Linked DNA regions of Homo sapiens: regions 1, 2, 3, 5, 6 and 7 are each linked to region 4. Evidence: promoter capture Hi-C in 16 types of primary human blood cells and fetal thymus (Javierre and others, 2016). All regions are on one chromosome and are shown on one strand. The core of a region is centred on a gene start or on the middle of the fragment in contact, and the rest is flanking DNA. Distances in the headings are between cores, read along the strand shown.

Region 1 (2,770 bases), core at 151-2,650, 220 kb after region 4:
ATCTCTGCCTGCATGGAACTCACATTCTTGTTAGGGAGGCCAACAGATAAGTAAAATACATAAGTAAATGAAATGGTGATAAGTGCTATGAAGAAAAATAAACAGAGCTAAGTGTGGTCGTGCACGCCTGTGGTCCTACCTACTCAGGAGGCTGAGGTGGGAGGCTCGCTTGAGCCCAGGAGTTTGAGGCTGCAGTGAGCTATGAGTGCACCTAGGAATAGCCACTGCACTCCAGCCTGGGCAACATAATGAGACTCCATAGCTAAATAAATACATAAAATAAACAAGAAAGGGAGATGGAGGCATGGGGGAGGAGGATTGCATTTTTCAAAAGAATGGTCAGGGAAGGCCTCTCTGAGAAGATGATGTTTTTAAGTAAAAACCCGAAAAAAGGGAGAAAGCCATGAGGGTACCCACAGGAGAGTGTCCTAGGCAGAGGAAACGGCCCATGCAAAGGCCTTGTGGTGGCAGGCCTGGTGTGTTCGAGGCCTGGTGAGGAGGCCAGCATGGCTGGAGTCGAAACAGCAAGGCAGGCAGCTTTGGAGGCAGACAGTGTAGGGCCTCATGAACCTCAGCTCTTTCTCTCAGGAGAGGAGAAGCTCCCAGAAGAGCTTGAGCAGAGGAGGGACTTGACCCAGATGAAACTAGGTGTGAGGAAGGACACTTCTATTTGTGCACTGCAGCTGCTGCTCCTGCTGCTGGTTCCCATGAGAACAGTTGCCAACTTTTCCAGACTAAGTAGGACACTTCTTAATGGGACATCTGGGCCTCCACTGTCGACATTGTACTTGTTGATTTTAACAACAGATGAACTTTCCCCAACTTCCCATGTATCTGTGTCCAGCCTCCTCCCTCCTTTTGGGTGGTTCTGTCCTTTGCCACTGCTCTGCACTGGATCGTCTTGATGATGCTACTTAACTGGCTACATAGACAGCTGCGGTCTGAACTCACCATGCATAACGTGTTGCTGTCTTGAGTTAGTTATTGGGGCCAGTGGCTCACAGATAAGTATTGCTTGGGCCAGGAAACCACAAGAATGAATGGGGAAGAAGGGTGAGGGAAATGTTTATAAACAGAATTGCCCCCTCAGTGGAGACTATGAAGCCTATTAGTATAACAAGCCGCCCCAAAACTTGCTAGTCTATACAAATTCTGGTGGGAAAAATTAGGATATCCTCATACTTCCTATGGGAGGCCAGGTATCACAAGTTCCGAGCCTCAGGCCTACAGGTGGTTTCTAGAGCCCATGGATCTCCTGAAATCATGCCCAAACATATGCCTGTGGGTGATTTTCAGGGGCGAGGTCATAGTTTCCATGTGGCTTGTTCTTTGAATGGCTTGAATGGCTTGATTGCAATTGCAGGTCATACTTTCAACACTGGCTGGTGTGTTACTGTATGTGCAAACGTGAAAAAATGTATGTATTTCAAAACAGAGTTTAAAAGGATCTTTTAATTCCCTAATATTAAAAGTCCATAATATCTGTATTTGACAAATATGGTGTTATCAGTATAGAAAGATAAATTATGGTCTCTTAGAAATTAAGGGATGTGTTTTTGAGGACATCGAGGTGTACTGTCTCCCAAGCTCTGTTTGCCGCTTTTCTCAATGGCTTTAAATCATCAGGAATTCACTCTCTGTATTAGATCATTTATTCTCATATGCCGCTCGCTGCCTTTGAAATACCTCCAATTCTAGCAATGGTTTACAGACATGCACAAGAGCCAAGTGGCTTAAAGCAACACCCTAGGACTTAGGTGTTTGGAAGCCCCTTATCCCCTGGAGTCATTTGTGGAACAGGGCCTGCATGCAAGAGGAGGCCCAAGCTCAGAAATGAGCAAAGAGCATGACTTAACAGGGAGGTTGTAGCGTCTTCACAGCAGAGTACAGTGAATAGAATTACATGTTCCTCAAGTCCCATTGGCTCATATTGGCATCATTCGGTACTGGACACAGGGTGTGCACCAAGTATATCTGTGAGTCAATGCTCACCTGCAGATGTACCACGAAGCATACCAGACAGAATTCTTGGGGGGAGGTGGGGGGCTGCTGCTTCTCCCAGGCCCTGGGGTTCTATCACAATATTTGATTCTACCCGGTTCAGATAAGCCCTTACGGGGATTCTTAGCTGGGACTTACAGAAATTGACAACGAGATTTGTTAGGAATGACTGATCCCATGCCCTGGAATGTAAGCCATGCACAGTTTATGGTACATAATTATATACAATAAACTATAAAGGACATACAGTGGATTTTGATATCAGGTTCCAGTTCCTCCTCACTGAGGAATTAGTACAAACCCTTCATCTGTGTGGCTAAGGAAATAGTTCTGGTCCTGCCCGAATCCGTTTCCATGTGTCCACATGGCCCTTTTTCCCCACCATGTACTTCTGACGGGAGAGGTCTGCTCCTTACATTAGGATCGAAAGCCTCGTGGGAGAAGTTGCAAGGTGTTCCCTTTCCAGCGGTCACTGTGGAGGAAAAAAGGATAACCGTATGACTGTCAGAGACGTGATCAAATAGGATGAGCTTACATTGGATAAGTAGACAAAATACAAAATCAGCAATAAGATTATGACACAGAAATCTGTGTATTTGTTCCTCAATTGCATACAAATTTCCCATTTTTCATCAAGATGGAAATTGAATAAGAGGAAAACTAAGAGGCTCTTATCACAGATGAGCTTGTGTTCCAGTTCACCATGGCTACCATCAGAGTTTTGTCCTGGTCACAGGCAGCTGTAGTCTGTGTTACTCTCTAACTAGAA
Region 2 (2,700 bases), core at 169-2,668, 240 kb after region 4:
AGGAAGAAGAGATAATGGGGAGCAAGTACAAGGGGAAACGAGATGATGTCTTGCCCCTCTTTTCTTTCCTTCAGTGCCCCCCTCCTTCAGGCCTCCACTGACCAAAAAAAAGATAATACAACATGCACTTTTGCTTTCCAAACACACCATTAATGAACTAAAATGTTGATATTTTCCAGATGTGCTTTCTCTTTACTCACACAGTGACTCCTCTTTCTTGCTGGTAAGATTCTAGTGACCCAATGTTGTAAGAGGCAGAAAGATAAAACCCAGTTCTCCCTTCACACATTCCCCCTTTGAAGTCTAGAGAAACTCTCTCCGTTACAAAAGAAAGAAAGAAAAGAATATTCAATGAAAGAAACACAATAAGGCATTCCTCTGAAGGAGAAATCGAAAGGAAAGGAGTAAAAACTTTTATTTATCAGAGCTGGCAAAGGCAACTTCATACTGTTTTGCTCAAAATTGTTCTTTTCTTCTTTCATGTCACTTACATAGCCACAAGTTAGAATACAATGAGCTTCCATCAAGAGAATTTGCTGAAGAAGCCAGAGAATCGCTCAGTCACCCAGACAGGGTCTGTGCAGTGGTCGTGACTGTGAGGCGTATCAGCCACTTTGCAGAAAACATGTTCTTGGACAGTTGAGCTTGGTACATCCTCTGCCCCGGGCTTTTTATCATTAGTCAACAGAGCTTCCATAGCAGGAGTCATCTCTTAAGTTCAATGTGTCATGTTTCTTCCAGAATATTTCCTGAACAGGAAAATCCTACTCCATTATCCTTTCCAACAGGCAACCTTCTAAAGGTAATTAGGAAAAAGAAAAAAGACAGAAATCTGAATCTTTCTCAATAAGGATCTCCTTTAATTCAACATTCCTAGTCACTGGTAGTCTACTTTGCTGCTAAGCTGGGTCAGTGTAGCAGTTTACAACTGGATTACTATTTAGGCTTTCAAAATACACATCAAATCACACTGGAGAGCGCTTTAGGATCCAGGATAACACCCTACAATCAGATTTTCTGTATTTCTGTAAGGAAACCTAAAATGGTGTTCAAGGTAGAAATGCCTTTATTAAATTCCAGAGGAGTGTAACTAATGTTACTGGGAAGCCCCAGGTCCCAGAGAGAGGAAGTATTTATCCCACAGTGCCATGATCAGTCTGGTACAAAAACGTGTGAGCACCAGCTAGGAGCTCTGTGCTCTGTCCTCAGGGCCGAGACCATGGCCTGTGTCTCTTGAATCCTCAATGTCTAGCACTATGCCACCTACATGGCAGATACTTGGTAAATGTCTGGTGATGTTAACTTTAAAGAGAATATAAACAGAAATAATTCTTCCCCTTAAGGGATTCTTTATTGGAGGAAACCAGATTTAGGAAAAAGAAATACCAAAAGAGAGGTGATACGGAGTCATAGAAAGAGCATGGATTTTGGAGTTAAACCTTCCAGCCTGGTATCCCACATAGTCACTGACAAGCTGTGTGACTTTTTAGCAAGTTACTGAACATCTGTGAGCCTCAATCTCTTCATCTACAAAACAGCAGTTGGAAGGATTAACTGCAGTGATGGTGTAGTGCATCCGGCAAAGAGCAGGCACTCGATAAATAGAGGCTATTATTATTATCATTCAAATAAAGATCGAGTTGGTGTGCAGTGGAATCAACTTGTAGGTGTGGCTGAGTACAATGGGGTAGTGAGGTGTGGAGCGGACCTTCAAGGAGAAGTGGAGTCAAGACGAGGGAAGAAGAAGTTAGTGGCCCAGGCCAAGGGATGATACCGAAGTGCTTTTATAAAAAAGGTTTTATTGTCAGAGTATCCTAGAGAATTATACTTTGGATACTTGAAGAGGGACAGATCTTCAGGTATAATACCTGAAACACCAATATTCTGTAGAAAAATTCTACCTTAAGAAACAATTCCCAATACAGGAGAGCCTATGAGAAACCAGACTGCTGGTCACCCTTCTGTGTATCCTGCTCATTTTTCTCATGTGAGAATGGTCTGCAAACTGAGGTCTATGTCTATAGACTGGGAATTTCCAGGGTAATACAGGATGGCTCTGCGACTGTATTCCTGATTGAGAATTGGTGCTAATAAATTCAGAATAAAAGTCAATGAAAGTGCTGTGTGCTGTTACAGCAAGGGTAAGTTCTGGATCTCCACCAGTCTGGTATTTTTATGCAGTAGCAGGTTCCAGCATTGCAATCCTAACATTTCCAGCTTTATACCAGATCCTATTGTTAAACAAAGACACACACCCCCCAGTGCATGTAAACTGTTCATTAGCACTTGTGGGCAGGGAAAATAGTTTCCTTTTGCTGCACAGAAGAAAACGTCGACAGATTTTTTTTGTTCTTTTTTTTAATGAATGTATTTATCCCTTTTGTATTTATTCTACACAAACCTGAGTTATCTGTCCATGACAGTTCTCTGTTTTTCAAAACTAAAATGGAAGAAAAAGTAGAAAGGGTAGAAAATGACTGACTGTCAGCATATTTGAAGGTTTCTTTGGCTTCCAGGAAAGAAGGGCAGGACTTGAGATCCTGCATGTGGTTTGAGGACAGACCGAGGCATATGTTTTGATTTGAGGATCAAAACTGAACCTAAACCTGTAAACATTCTGTATTTTAGTTCTTAAAAATTAGCTTTGCTAAAAACACATATGCAACATTTTATTCTTGAGAGTTTCCAGGGATTTAGGAG
Region 3 (2,939 bases), core at 216-2,715, 230 kb before region 4:
TGTCACCCAGGCTGGAGTGCAGTGGTAGAATCACAGCTCACTGCAGCTTCAACCTCTCGGGCTCACGCGAGCCTCTCACCTCAGCCTCCCAAGCAGCTGGGACTACAGTCATGTACCACCACACCCTGCTAATTCTTTTTCTTGCCCAAGCTGGTCTCAAACTCTTGAGCTCAAGCAGTCCGCCTGCCTCGGCCTCCCAAAGTGCTGCAAGTACAGGCTTGAGCCACCTCGTTTGGCCTCTAGCTCAGTAATTAATCTGACACTTGGTGACTGGCATACTGGTTTGCATTTCTCATTCCTCAGTTTCCTCGCCTGTAAAATGGGGGTAGTGACATCTACCTATTCATCTTTTAAGATTGTTATACGGATCAAATGTGATAATAAAATAATTTGAAAAATATAAAGTATTATTTGGCATAACGTAATATTATATTTGTGCCACTGAAATCTAAATATGTCATGATGCAAACATACTGTATATTTTATTGATTGAGTCAACCATCATGTCTTGTTTAGTTGTTCATAGAAACTATTTTAGAATGAAAGGTTAAAAAGGCAACATAATTAAGAAACACAAAGGAAAAGAAGACATTTGACTTCTGCTATTATAACTTCTCCAAAGTTTCATTTCAAATCAAATAAACATTTTTGCATAAATAAAACTTAGTTGTTCTTAAACTTTGTATATTAAAAATATACAGATTTTCGGCCAGGCGTGGTGGCTGATGTCTGTAATCCCAGCACTTTGGGAGGCTGAGGCGGGTGGATCACCTGGGATCAGGAGTTCGAGATCAGCCTGATCAACATGGAGAAACCCCATCTCTACTAAAAACACCAAATTAGTCAGGCGTGGTGGTGCATGCCTGTAATACCAGCTACTCGGGAGTCTGAGACAGGAGAATCGCTTGAAGCCGGGAGGTGGAGGTTGCGGTGAGCCTAGATCACGCCATTGCATTCCAGCCTGGGCAACAGAGCCAGACTTCGTCTCAAAAAAAAAAAAAATATATATATATATATAATATATATATACACACACACACAGATTTTCTTATAGGGCTACAGAATTTAGATACATAACTTATGTTTTTCTCAGAGACAACAATACTAAATATTCTTTTTTTTTTTTTTTTTTTTTTTTTGAGACGGAGTCTCGCTCTGTCGCCCAGGCCGGACTGCGGACTGCAGTGGCGCAATCTCGGCTCACTGCAAGCTCCGCCTCCCGGGTTCACGCCATTCTCCTGCCTCAGCCTCCCCAGTAGCTGGGACTACAGGCGCCCGCCATCGCGCCCGGCTAATTTTTTGTATTTTTAGTAGAGACGGGGTTTCACCGTGTTAGCCAGGATGGTCTCGATCTCCTGACCTCATGATCCACCCGCCTCGGCCTCCCAAAGTGCTGGGACTACAGGCGTGAGCCACCGCGCCCGGCCCTAAATATTCTTAAAATTTTTATCACATGCTTACTACATACCAGGCACTATACTAGGAATTGAAGACAGGAATGTAAATGAGGCTGGGCGTGGTGGCTCATGCCTGTAATCCCAACACTTTGGGAGGCCAAGGCCTGAAGATCACTTGAGCCCAGGAGTCTAAGACCAGCCTGGGCAACATGGAGAAACCACTCCTCTACAAAAAAAAAAAAAAAAAAAAAAATATATATATATATATATACACACACACACATATATATCCATATATATATGTATATATATACATATATATATATATATATATACGTATATATATATATATAAAAATTAGCCAGGCATGGTGGCACGCGCCTGTAGTTCCAGCTGTTCAGGAGGCTGAGGTGAGAAGATTGCTTGAGCCTGGGAGGTCGAGGCTGCAGTGAGTCGAGATCACACCACTGCACTCCAGCCTGGATGACAGAGACCCTGCCTCAAAAAAAAGAGAAAACAGAAATGTAAGTGAATGGTTTCTGCAATGCAGGAGTATCACAACTCAATATTTGGAAAGACTATTTATCTGATAAAATCAAAGAAGTAGTAGTGGTATGCCGTATTTATTAAATGCATTAATATTTCCTATTAGCCAGGTGCGGTGACTCACGCCTGTAATCCCAGCACTTTGGGAGGCCAAGGTGGGCAGATCACCTGAGGTCAGGATTTCAAGACCAGCGTGGCCAACATGGTGAAACCCCATCTCTACCAAAAACACAAAATTAGCCAGGGGTGGTGGCACGTGCTGGTAATCTCAGCTACTCGGGAGTCTGAGGCAGGAGACTTGCTTGAACCCGGGAGGCAGAGGTTGCAGTGAGGTCAGGCAACTGCACTCAAGCCTGGGTGAAAAAACGAGTCAAAAAAAAAAAAAAAAGAGGGAGACAGAGAGAGAGAGAGAGAGAAGGAAGGAAGGAAGGAAGGAGGGAGGGAGGGAGGGAAGGAAGGAAGGAAAGAAAAGAAAGAGACAGAAAGAGAGAGAGAGAGACGAAAGAAAGAAAGAAAGAAAGAAAGAGAAAGAAAGAAAGAAAGAAAGAAAAAGAAAGAAAGAAAGAAATCTTCCCGACTGCCTTCAGTGTGAGACACTGGCTTTTTCCCTGACTTCATTGGCTTCCTGGTTTTCAGGCCTTCAAACTCTGCCTGGACCTACCCTACCTGCTCTCCTGGGTCTATAGCTGTTGACTCACCCTACAGATGCTGGGACTTCTCAGCTGCCATAATCATGTGAACCAATTCCTTCTCATAAGTGTCTTTCTATGTATATTACATCCTACTGGTTCTGTTACTCTGTAGAAGGTAATGTTCACCCGAGAAAATTTCCAAAAAGCAACGGAGAATGAAGAAATAAGGATTCTGTAACATTTCATCATTCATGTCTGAATAGAGTAAAAACAAATGGTTGAGGCCCGGCATCGTGGCTCACGCCTGTAATCCCAGCACTTTGGGAGGCTGAGGTGGGCAGATCATGAGGTCAGGAGTTCGAGA
Region 4 (2,804 bases), core at 244-2,743:
AACTCAGGCAGCCTTGAGACTCAAGAGAGACTCCAGGCTGTCGAAAGAAGGAAGACTCACAAAGCGTCTAAATTCAGACCCTTTACACTGGAGAGGAAGACTTGGGAAACAGCCACATCTCACTGTTTGAGGGACCTGGAAAAACAGATCATCGTGACTTTCTTCAAGGTCACGCAAAGTTTAAGTGATTTTTACTGTCCCACATTCCAGCATGTCCTCTTCTATGCATTCATTTCCCATGGTAGTTCATCATTCTCTATTTATGGCATTTTTATTAGGTAACAGTATCTCATCTCTTCCCGATAATTGTGCTGCTGCATATTTTTAGAAACTTTTCCACCCGCCATTGTCAGGGACTGAGGAGTTGCATTAATGTTGAGTTTGAAAATTCTGTTCTTGCATCAGGCAGGTAAAAGTGGCCTTATTAGTATTTCTGTTTTCAATGTCTGGAGAAAAGTCCCAGGGAGAGAAAAACAAGATAAAGCATCATGTTGTCCACTGGTAAAATCTGTACGTGGAAAGTAGGCTAAGCTAGAGTAATCGGTTTAAGGTAGCAGTTAATAGTGTCTGCAGCTCTTTACTTCGTTAACCTCAGTTAACCAGGACCTGGCACAATGGGGATTGAAATCAGGGGGCTTATCCACAGTTTCCTCAAATACTGATTTTATCAAGTTGGGCTGATAATTCCATAAACTGTATGAGCATTGATAGTTAGATGTGATCGTTTTCAGAGTGATTCTTTTTCTGCTTGGGTTTATTTATTTATTTATTTTGAGACAGAATCTCACTGTGTTGTCCAGGCTGGAGTGCAGTGGCGCAATCTCGGCTCACTGCAACCTCCGCCTCCCGGGTTCAAGCGATTCTCCTGCCTCAGCCTCCCAAGTAGATGGGATTACAAGCATGCACCACCACAATCGACTAATTTTTGTGTTTCACCATGCCGGCCAGGCTGGCCTCCAACTCCTGACCTCAAGTGATCGGCCCCCCTCGGCCTCCCAAAGTGTTGAGATTACAGGCGTGAGCCACCACACCCGGCTCCGCTTAGTTTTTGCCAGTAGTTTTGCAGGGATGGTGTGTCTCCCCGCCTCTACCTCCTCCTCCTGTTTTGAAAAAGAGAATAAACGTATTGGAACAGCCCAGGAGATTGCCTGAGTTTTGCTGGCAGCCTCTGAAGCAGCCCACAGTATTTCTACCTTCCCCGGCAAGAACAGTGGCTTTGTTCTGTCCGCGCCGGAGGGGCCGGGCGTCTGCGGAGCTCGGCCTTGGACTTGGGAGCGGCTTTCTCTGGCTCTCCGGAGAAATGGGCAAGAGCGGCGAGGAGAGAAATCTGGGGCCCGGAGGATGTTCTCACCTGTCATTCCTAAGATGCGCTTGAGTGCTGCCCCCTGGAGGCGTCTGTGCCACCGGCTGGAAGTCAGCCGAGGGCACAGGGTGTCAGCAACCTCCAGGGTGGAAACCAACCCCGCGGCCCGGGCCTGCAGGTGACGCAGGGTGGGCGGGGCCTGCAGACGCCGGGTGGGCGGGGCCTGCAGGTGACGCCGGGTGGGCGGGGCCTGCAGACGCCGGGTGGGCGGGGCCTGCAGGTGACGCCGGGTGGGCGGGGCCTGCAGACGCCGGGTGGGCGGGGCCTGCAGGTGACGCCGGGTGGGCGGGGCCTGCAGACGCCGGGTGGGCGGGACCTGCAGGTGACGCCGGGTGGGCGGGGCCTGCAGAGGACCTGCGCGTCCGGATCTGAAGCGAGCAGAGCCCTCTCTACTCCAGCTGAACGGTGATGGTCGTCAGGAAGGAATGTGGGCTCACTGTGGAAAGAACATTCAGTTTTTCAAAAGAAGACAGAAATAGGGATGCTTATGTGAAATTCCTGATTTTTCAAACTTGGCAACTTAATTCAGTTAAAAAAAAAAAAGCATTTCTATGGCAGGACCACGAGTCATAGGTAGAACGCCTTGTACACATTAGAAAGAGAGCCTCGCTCTGGGCAGATAAAGCAGGAGGGGAAAAAAGTAGTGGGTCAAAGGTGCCTCTGAGCAGTTGCTCCCCTGCCCGACTGCTGGGCTTAATGCGATGGTCATGGCTGGATGTCAGCCTCCCTGTGGGGACACTGACACAGCTGCAGCAGCCCTGAGAGAGTCGCCAAGTGGGCCTGCCCATGCCAGGTGCTGTCCTTGGGCCCCAGGTTCACAAACTCTGGATGCTGGAACAGGTAGCCAGAGAGGGCAGGAAAGGCAGTGCAACTTGCAAGTCTACCCTTGTTAAAGGGCCCTACAATTGTAAAATTTCATGCCCCCCATATCCCAAACATCCTCTCCGTATTCCTGGATGATGAACGTTGGCTTGGGAGGCATGTTTACTCTAGGCAATATTTTTCTGAGGTTATTATACTCTGTGTGTGAGGAAGATTCATCTATGTATCCACTTTATCTTTTGGGAGTACATTTCACCTGTTGTTATTTTTAACATCTTCCCTTGATTGACCTGCTCGTGCTGGACCTCTTTAAATTATTTCTAATTCTGACAACATCCTGACAAGGTAATATAATTCCACTTACTTTACAAATAAAGACACTGAGGCTTCAAGAAGTAATTTTTCCCCAGACCAGCTAGGAAATGGCTGTGCAGAGCTTCAAACCCAGGTCTGTCTTACTAGGAGGCTGATGACTTTGATACTTCTACCTGAGATGGCAAAGTCTGTGTCTCTTCTCCCTGACGTCATCTAATGAAGATCTATGCTGTCTGAGCACTTAATGCCTAAGAATCTTCCATTTGGTGCCTTCCCCTTTCCCCTTTTTATATCTTTATAAATT
Region 5 (2,700 bases), core at 125-2,624, 210 kb after region 4:
CTGAACATTGGGTTATGTAACAAAGAAAAGAATCTTTTCCAAAGATGTTTAGTCATGGAAGAGAAGTAACCGGTCATTCTGGACTAAGTGCAGTCCAATGGCTCAGCTCAAACCGGCCTGCATTAGGGCTAGGTTGTTAAGTAAAGTTTCCTGCCCTGACAGCACATGTCTTGCTGTGAACTCTAGGCTGGAAGTGGGCCCATAAAAGGCCCTCACATTTTAGGAGTAAAACTGTGGGCTAAGCACCTTTTGAGATTTGGCCCTTTTTCCTTAGTAGCTGAAGTAATTGTGTGATGCACAAACCTGGGTCCAGAAAGCTGGGACAAGGGTGTGGCATTTCACCAAATAGCATCTGAAATGGGGGCTAAAAGAGAGTGTAAGTTTCGCCAAATACCAAATCCTACATATTTATATAACATGGTATAATTTATAAACTATATTCCCATCCAGTATGTAATTTAAATTGCATAAAAACCTTGTACAGGAGTCGTGTGATTATCACATTATAGATGGGAAAACTAAGGCTTGATCAAGTTAGCATGGATGTTCGGTGACAAAACCAGAATTGTAACCCAGGTCTTTTGATTTTAGTGCAGTTATTTTTTACCTTTCAAGGTTCAGGCGAGTTATCCAGAAGAGTAGTGAATTGTAGGTAATGATAGCCATGCCCAGCAGGTACCAAGCTACAGTAGCACAAGTTGAAAAATTACAAACACTGTAGGTAGGGAAGGCTTTCTGCAGTTAACTTAGAAAAAAGCATCCATTTGATTGGCAAGAATGCTCCAAGGATGCTCTTTGTTCACGGAGAGACAGGCACAGTCTGGTTCCTGGATCCCATGAATGGCCCCAGGTATACACTGGCTAGTAGAGACAATCCAAAGATTTGTTCTTTCCACCCTTTATTTACCAAACATGCAAAGTATGATGCCACGTATGAATTGTGGATGAGGATATTCTCAGCAGAATGCGAGATTATTTTCACAATCATTGTAGGAACTTTAAATAATCTTACCTGTTGATATTCAATAGCCAGATCTTCCCAAAAGTCCTTACTCATTGTAAATAATAAGGATAAACTTGAACTCTAGGTTTTAAAGATTGCCTTTCTGAGTGCTATACTTAAGTAAAAATAACTATTGCCACCTCCTGCCAACATTTTCATTAAACATCTAAAAAATAACTTGGTGTGTGGTGGAGAATTGGTGGATATAGACTGTTTTCTCTGGTTCCCCCTGAAAATACCAAGATGGGAGATAAATTCAGACATTGATAGCTCTGCTGCCACAGTGCACTAAATTATAAACTAGTGTCCCAAAAGACAGGATTCTCCTCCCAATCAACAAGAGTACTTATAACCAGAGAGCCATAGGTGCTCAGTATAGAACCAAAACAACAACAACAACAAAAACCCCCAATTTATAGTCAGGGAGGAGATTCCGGACCTCAGTACCATAGGTGGACCTGGTACCACAACACATGTGTATTCGCTGAAGAACTGAGACACTTTGATGCAATTATTTGCCAAAGGTTTCAAAAAGCAATCCACCCCCAAATTGTGGAGGGTAAAATGTTCTTTCCTGTTCTCTTCTCTGTTTGCGCACACACAGTACCACTCACCGCATTCCAGTTGGCACCTGCACACACTCCTAAAATAAGAGAATGTGTAATCTCCTGAGTCTCTTTTGGCTCAAAGCATTGAGAGTTTTCAGAGACTGGGTCTACAAGATGCAGGAAGCTACACACCAATAGCCCTCCTCACGTTAAGGCGATAGGAATAAGACCCCCTGACAGCCAAATCTGAGACTTTGGTTTAGAAAACCCATCATTTAGAAATGGCTTTGTAATAAAACCGGAAATTCAGGTTTTTGTAAAAAAAGTAATAGAAAAAAAGAGCGGACCAGTTCCCCATGGGCACACAGCTGCCCACAGCTGCTGCCTGGTTACTTCCTGACAGACATGGGTTTGCTGCTATGGGAACGATGTCTGTCCCACAGGCAAGGAGTGTCCCTGTGCCCGTGTGCTTGCTGCTAAACAGTGACAAGGACATTAGGAAAACAGGGCCTTCTTAACTCTTGAGGATGACAGTGCATGCACCAAAGAAACCAAAGGAGCCGTTGCCTCTGCTATCATTTTTCTTCTTTTTTTTTCGGAGACGGAGTCTCACTTTGTGGCCCAGGCTGGAGTGCAGTGACACAATCTCGGCTCACTGCAACCTCCCCCTCCCAGGTTCAAGCAATTCTCCTGCCTCATCCTCCCGAGTAGCTGGGACTACAGGCACACACCGGCATGCCTGGCTAATTTTCGTATTTTTAGTAGAGATGGATTTTACCCTGTTGGCCAGTCTGGTCTCGAACTCCCGACCTCGGGTGATCTGCCCACCTTGCCTCCCAAAGTGCTGGGATTACAGGCATGAACCACTGTGCCTGACCCTCTGTTATCTTTTTAATCTTTTAACACAGAAATAGTTATTTGCTGAATGATCCTTAGCCCATTGAACTGGTTTAATGGAACATACAGCAACAACAGAAAGCTAAGTCCCAGACAGTAGTTTCTGCTTTGGAAGAGTGTAACTCAAGTTTGTCATCCTGCCTCTTTTTCAGAAATAGCTCGAAGGAGGAGAGGTATGGCCCATCTTTTTGCTTTTATAGCAAATCAACATTTGGGCAGCACGATGGCCTCCCTTCCCAGGTTTTAGGAACA
Region 6 (2,700 bases), core at 76-2,575, 190 kb after region 4:
ACTTTACCTCCCTTTATCCTTTCCATTTATAATATGTTTGTCTTTAAATTTACCTATATACATTAAGAACCAGACCAGTTTTATAATTTTTGCCTTATCATCAAGCATAATTTAGAAAACTCAAGAGGAAGAGAAAAGGCTATTGCATTTACCTATATTTTTGTTTGCTTTGTTCTTCCTTCCTAATATTGAAGGTTTTGTTTTCTTTCTTTCTTTTTTTTTTTTCTGTTTAGAGCACTTTCTTTAGCTAATTTTTCAGATTAGGACTGTTGGAGATATCACTTAGTTTTCCTTCCTCTGAGAATGTCTTCCTTTCCCCTTTCATTTCTGAAGGATATTTTTGCTGGATATAGGACTCTGGGTTATCAGTTTTTTTCTTTCAGCACTTGAAAACTCTCTCACCTCTTCCTTCTGGCTTCCATATTTTCTGATGATAAAATCACCATCATTCAAATTGTCTTTCCAATATAAGTAAGGTGTTTTTTTATCTTGCTGCTTTTAAAATGTTTTCTTTGTCCTTTGTTTTTGGAAGTTTAATTAGGATGTGTCTTGATGTGTATTTTTTTGGCTTTATCCTGTTTGGAATTCACTCATCATCTGAATATGTAGGTTCATTTCTCTTGCCAAATTTGGGAAGTGTTCAGCCATTTTTTCTTCTATTACTTTTCTATCTGCTCCTCCTTTCTCCTCTCCTTCTAGGACACTTATGACATAAATGTTAGATTTTTTGTTATAGTCCACAAATCCCTGAGGCTCTGTTATTTGCTTTTCAATCTATATTCGCTCTGTTATTCAGATTGGTCATTTTTACTGTTTTGTTTTCCAGTTCACTGATTCTCTCCCTATTTTCTCTGTTCTTTGTTTTTGTTTTTTGTTTGTTTCTGGTTTTTGAGACAGGATTTCACTTTTTTGCCCAGGAACTACAGGTGCATGCCACTACGCCTGGCTAATCTTTGTATTTTTTTGTAGAGATGAGGTTTCACCATGTTTCCCAGGCATGTCTCAGATGTCTGGGCTCAAGCGATCCACCCATCTTGGTTTCCCAGAGTGCTGGAATTACAGGCGTGAGCCACTGTGCTCAGCCTGCTCTGTTCCAATGAGTTTGATTGATAAATAACTTTGGTTATTTATTTTTTAGTTCTAAATTTTCATCTGGTTCTTCTTTAGGTCATCTATTTCTTCTCTGAGATAGTCAGTTTCTTTTCCAAGGCTTTTTTTTCTCTTTGTTTGAAACATATTAATAATTGCTCATTGAAGTGATTTATCATGGCTGCTTTTTAATCTTTGTCAGGTAATCCTAAAATCTCTATCATCTCAGTCTTGGCATCTATTGATTGTCATTTTTCATTGCATTTAAGATCTTCCTGTCTCTTGATATGACAAGTGATTTCAGCTGAAACCAGGATATTTTAGTATTATGTTACTAGACTCTGAATCACATCAAAACCTTTTGTTTTAAGCTGGCTTTCTCTGGCAGGACTTCAGCAAGGGACGGGTAGGCATCACCTCATTACTGCTTAGGTGGATGCAGAAGTCCAGGTTTCTACTGGATCTCCATTGATACCTGAGTGGTATCATCATTATTATTGCTAATTATTAAGCATTATTGGTGGGAAGGGATAGAAATTCCAGCTCTCCGTGTGGTTCTTTTGATAGCGCAGTAGGGGTGGCTCCATTATGGGTAGGCAGTAGTAAAAATCCAGTCACTCTACTAAGCATTCTCTTACCCCACCCCAGTGGGGTACAGCCCAACAGGTGAGGAGAGTCTGGGTTCCCCACCCAGGCTTTGCTGGCATGGGTGGAGGTGGGGATTCTGTGGTTTTTGGCTGGTGTTGAGCATTTATTATTGAAAAGTTTTCTATTTTGCTAGGCTGCTTCATTCCTGAAGAGATGAGCTTTTTTCGGATATTTTTTTTTTGTCTGTGCTCTTTGGCATTTCCAGGTTGTTGTCTTCTTCACTATAAGTCTAGGATAGAAATAATTGCCTGGTGTGATGGCTCACGCCTGTAATCCCAGCACTTTGGGAGGCCAAGGCGGGCAGATCACCTGAGGTCAGGAGTTCGAGACCAGCCTGGGCAACATGGTGAAACGCCGTCTCTACTAAAAATACAAAAATACAGCATGCCTGTAATCCCAGCTACTCGGGTGGCTGAGGCAGGGGAATCACTTGAACCCAGGAGGTGGAGGTTGCATTGAGCTGAGATCATGCCACTGCACTTCAGCCTGGGCAACAAGAGCGGACTCCGTCTTAAAAAAAAAAAAAAGAAGAACAACTCAGCCATGTGTTGTTCTGTGAGTTCTGAGATCTCTAGCCAGGCTTCCTTTACTCCACCTTTCACAGTCTTCTTATGTTTGTTTCCTATCTGATGTCAGGATTTTAGTTATACTTGGCAGGAGAAGTGGGGAAAAGTGTGTCCACTTCATCTTCTACAAGTGGAAGTCCTGGAACTTTCATTTTTAGTTGACTTGGTTTTTCAAGCTCAATATTTTATGAACATGCTGCACCACTTAACAAAGCAGAAGGATACCAAACCACCTGCAGGAAACATTTGTTTCTAGGGTTTATGTGAAAGGAAAAGTGTCTACCATGTGCTTGGCACTTTATGCTTAATTTCACTTAATCCTCAGAAGAATGCTACAGGGAGGGTATTATTAACCCCGATTTACAGAGGTGAGAACTGAAGTTCAGAGAAATTAAGT
Region 7 (2,718 bases), core at 84-2,583, 150 kb after region 4:
CATTGGGGATTACAAATCGACATGAGATTTGGCGGAGACACAGATCCCAAACCTTACCAATGACCCAGTGAAATAGGCGGAAAAGACATTTTCCGAGAGCTGGAAGGAGAACCAAAAGAGTGTGGTGTTATGGAAGCCGAGAGAGTTTTAAAAAAGAAAGTCCTTGTGTTTTCATCAGTAACTTTGTTGTGTATCAGTGTTTTCCCTTCATGTAACTTAAATGTCCACTAATGCAAGTGAAGGCAATCTATGCCTAATTTCTTCACTAAATATTCTACTAATAAATGATTTACTGACAAAATGAAATTATATAACTGAAAAGGTTTAAAAATGATAAGAAATATCCCAATGGAAGCTGTTTTTTAAATAATGTTATTACTGTCAGTAACAAAATTATGATGACACAGGTCCAACACCTTTTAAAAGAGAGGAGGTAAAAAGGAGAGTTGGATATGAAGAATCTCAGACTGCAGTGCAGCTCTGAGAAAGTCTCAGCCAGGTACATGGGTGCCCGGGAGCAGAGATTGCCTGTCAGAAGGGCCCCATGAGGGCAGAAGTGACCTGGCTCTCGTGTCCCTGCCATGATCAGTCATTGGCTGTAAGCAGACTCCGCCCGGACTGTGTGGCCTCGGCAGGAATCACGGTGGCAGATTGAGAGGGGCAGTGCTGGAGGCTGTCAGCTGGCTAGGCATCCCTTATTGCTGAATAGCTTACTGAGGGCGTACCTCCGTGGCTGCCTAGTGAGTCTCTTTCTGTAAAAGCAGTTCAGTGTGGGAGTCCCTGAGAGAGAGTTTGCTGCAGAAGCTTCATTACAGTGACCTATGAAGCAACTGACAGCTTTGCAGAGTTTGTTTCCATTATGTTGCAGGTCTCCTTCAAAACAAGTTTTGGCACTTTTGATGCCAACTAGAGTGTAAACTATATTTTAGAGCGACTAGTTTAGAGTGTAAACAACAGTAAGTGGAGCAGATTTCCTCTCAACTTAGCCTCAAAGATAACCTCTCACACTAGAGTTATTTTTTTACCTAATACTTCTTTTTTTCCTGGTTACTGAAATCATACACACTTACTATAACAATCTGTAGAAATGTGTAACTTAGAGAGTAAAAGTCTTCTATAATATTCTATCCCAAAATATAATCATTGTTTTAAAAAGGTATGTATTCTACCTTAAAGTCCACTTTTATTGTTATATTTTACTATAACATTCTAATTATAATATTTTATTATAATTTATAGGTTTCAGTATGATTTCAATGAAAGATGAATTCTGGCAAACAGTATTTATTCCCCTTTCCCCGCTGGGTGTCATTTCTTTGGGAATAGAAAAATGACCTTGTTTTGTGTATCTAGCCAACAATTCTTTTTAATATTTGTGAGTATACCAAATGTACAATATTCCTTCAACTGAAGTAACTTTTTAAAAGAAACTAGAATTTATTCCTCCGTATGCTTTATTTTCATGAGGTTTGGGTACAGTATAGTAAATTTAAAAATCTTTTGAACTCTTTAAAATGGTCTTTGTACCTATATAATAGAAAAGGATCTGTTCAAAAAAATTCTTGCCACAAATTCCTTTTGATCATTTTCATTTACTTAATTGCTCTAATTTATGCTTATTTTTGTCCACTGACAACCTAATTGGCCTCACAGACTTCTCATTTTATTCAAAGTCCACCAGCAGTTACTTCTTTTGAATACCACCTCCCCTTTGGACTCCACGGGAATTTGGACAATAATTGTGATGGGTTTGGCAGGGGCTTGGGGGTTGGGCTGCTCATATATTATGAAAAGCCTTAGTAGAGAAAAATTACATTTCAAGTTAATTTGTTTTTATATAACAGAGTCTGGGTCTAAGCTTTCCTTCACCACATACCCATTGAGGGTTTTAGGAAGTCAACATGTTTACACTGTATCTTAAGTCAAGGGTCCTGTTTTTATACAGGGTTTGCCAAACCAAGTTTACTACAGTGGTGTTCTGCCAGCACAAAGATTACAGGATCAGACTTTAGCGAACGCTCGTTTGCCAGAGTCATGTTTTATCTATTCAACCCCAACCACCCTGATTCATTTTGGAAAGTCTACTCTGTTTATCCCACGATGATGACAAAGTGGTTAAAAAAGAAGATTACTACAAAAAGTGATATTTTCAAGAGAGACACAAAGGCACTGATACAGACAGGCTTTAGAGAAAGACAAACTTTGTGGTACCACTTGGGTATTTGAAAGCAGCACAATTATTTTTTTTCAGTCACAGGGAGACAACATTTTCCCATTGAACTTTTTGGATACGTATTTTCACACACACTGTGCCCAAAAGTCAGATTCTCTCCTCCATCCCACCCCTAACCCAAATTACAATTTAATTTGACTGCTGGCTGTTTTTGAAAAGAATTCTGAAAGTGATTGACCGCTACCAAAGATGAAGATTGTAGTTTTTCTCCTGATATGATTATATTCTTGATATATTCTTGCTGTAGGGGACAAAAAGTGATCAATAGCTTTATGCTTAGTAAAATCAGAGAGGACAGGACTTGCAATTTAATGGTTTTACCTTTATGTTTACTACATATTAGCAAAGTATCTAAGCTCTGGAAACTGTGTCTCCCTGTAATGTTGTCAAGTATATGTGGAGAGGTGAATTTTACAGAAGGAGAAACTGGGATTATCCTATCCCGCTTTTTACAGTGGCTCATAAAGAGCAATGTACTAGATTCT

The links. Contacts are between HindIII fragments. The CHiCAGO score rates a contact against its expected background, and 5 or more counts as called.
Region 1: a contact is called between a fragment that was not itself captured here and the fragment with the promoter of CLUL1 in region 4, in 4 of 17 cell types (M2 macrophages, M0 macrophages, M1 macrophages and 1 more). The highest score is 8.8, in M2 macrophages.
Region 2: a fragment that was not itself captured here is called in contact with the fragment with the promoter of CLUL1 in region 4 in 4 of 17 cell types (M1 macrophages, M2 macrophages, monocytes and 1 more); the score reaches 9.1 in M1 macrophages.
Region 3: a fragment that was not itself captured here is called in contact with the fragment with the promoter of CLUL1 in region 4 in 6 of 17 cell types (naive CD4 T cells, naive CD8 T cells, activated CD4 T cells and 3 more); the score reaches 8.7 in naive CD4 T cells.
Region 5: a fragment that was not itself captured here is called in contact with the fragment with the promoter of CLUL1 in region 4 in 3 of 17 cell types (M2 macrophages, M1 macrophages and M0 macrophages); the score reaches 8.4 in M2 macrophages.
Region 6: a contact is called between a fragment that was not itself captured here and the fragment with the promoter of CLUL1 in region 4, in 3 of 17 cell types (M2 macrophages, M1 macrophages and M0 macrophages). The highest score is 8.6, in M2 macrophages.
Region 7: a fragment that was not itself captured here is called in contact with the fragment with the promoter of CLUL1 in region 4 in 4 of 17 cell types (M0 macrophages, M2 macrophages, M1 macrophages and 1 more); the score reaches 7.7 in M0 macrophages.

Annotation. Positions count from the first base shown.
Region 1 is chr18:372,998-375,767 of GRCh38, reverse strand. The region is part of intron 2 of COLEC12 (collectin subfamily member 12); the gene reads left to right. LOC107985155 (a long non-coding RNA gene) reads right to left here. Exons shown (of 2, transcript XR_007066264.1): 1 at 1-2,770. Among named protein-coding and RNA genes, the nearest start is that of THOC1, 110 kb to the right of the region's middle. The HindIII fragment of the contact is 6,080 bases long and covers 1-2,770 here.
Region 2 is chr18:352,167-354,866 of GRCh38, reverse strand. All of the region lies in intron 3 of COLEC12 (collectin subfamily member 12), which reads left to right. Among named protein-coding and RNA genes, the nearest start is that of THOC1, 85 kb to the right of the region's middle. The HindIII fragment of the contact is 4,508 bases long and covers 1-2,700 here.
Region 3 is chr18:826,972-829,910 of GRCh38, reverse strand. No RefSeq gene overlaps it. Among named protein-coding and RNA genes, the nearest start is that of YES1, 16 kb to the right of the region's middle. The HindIII fragment of the contact is 4,537 bases long and covers 1-2,939 here.
Region 4 is chr18:595,677-598,480 of GRCh38, reverse strand. CLUL1 (clusterin like 1) reads right to left here and starts at 1,493. Exons shown (of 10, transcript NM_001393344.1): 1 at 1,352-1,493. RefSeq lists an enhancer at 513-1,012 and silencers at 1,435-1,554, 1,615-1,744. The HindIII fragment of the contact is 7,229 bases long and covers 1-2,804 here.
Region 5 is chr18:390,209-392,908 of GRCh38, reverse strand. All of the region lies in intron 2 of COLEC12 (collectin subfamily member 12), which reads left to right. All of the region lies in intron 1 of LOC107985155 (a long non-coding RNA gene), which reads right to left. Among named protein-coding and RNA genes, the nearest start is that of COLEC12, 110 kb to the left of the region's middle. The HindIII fragment of the contact is 6,658 bases long and covers 1-2,700 here.
Region 6 is chr18:410,007-412,706 of GRCh38, reverse strand. All of the region lies in intron 2 of COLEC12 (collectin subfamily member 12), which reads left to right. Among named protein-coding and RNA genes, the nearest start is that of COLEC12, 89 kb to the left of the region's middle. The HindIII fragment of the contact is 5,695 bases long and covers 1-2,700 here.
Region 7 is chr18:447,593-450,310 of GRCh38, reverse strand. The region is part of intron 2 of COLEC12 (collectin subfamily member 12); the gene reads left to right. Among named protein-coding and RNA genes, the nearest start is that of COLEC12, 52 kb to the left of the region's middle. The HindIII fragment of the contact is 1,054 bases long and covers 807-1,860 here.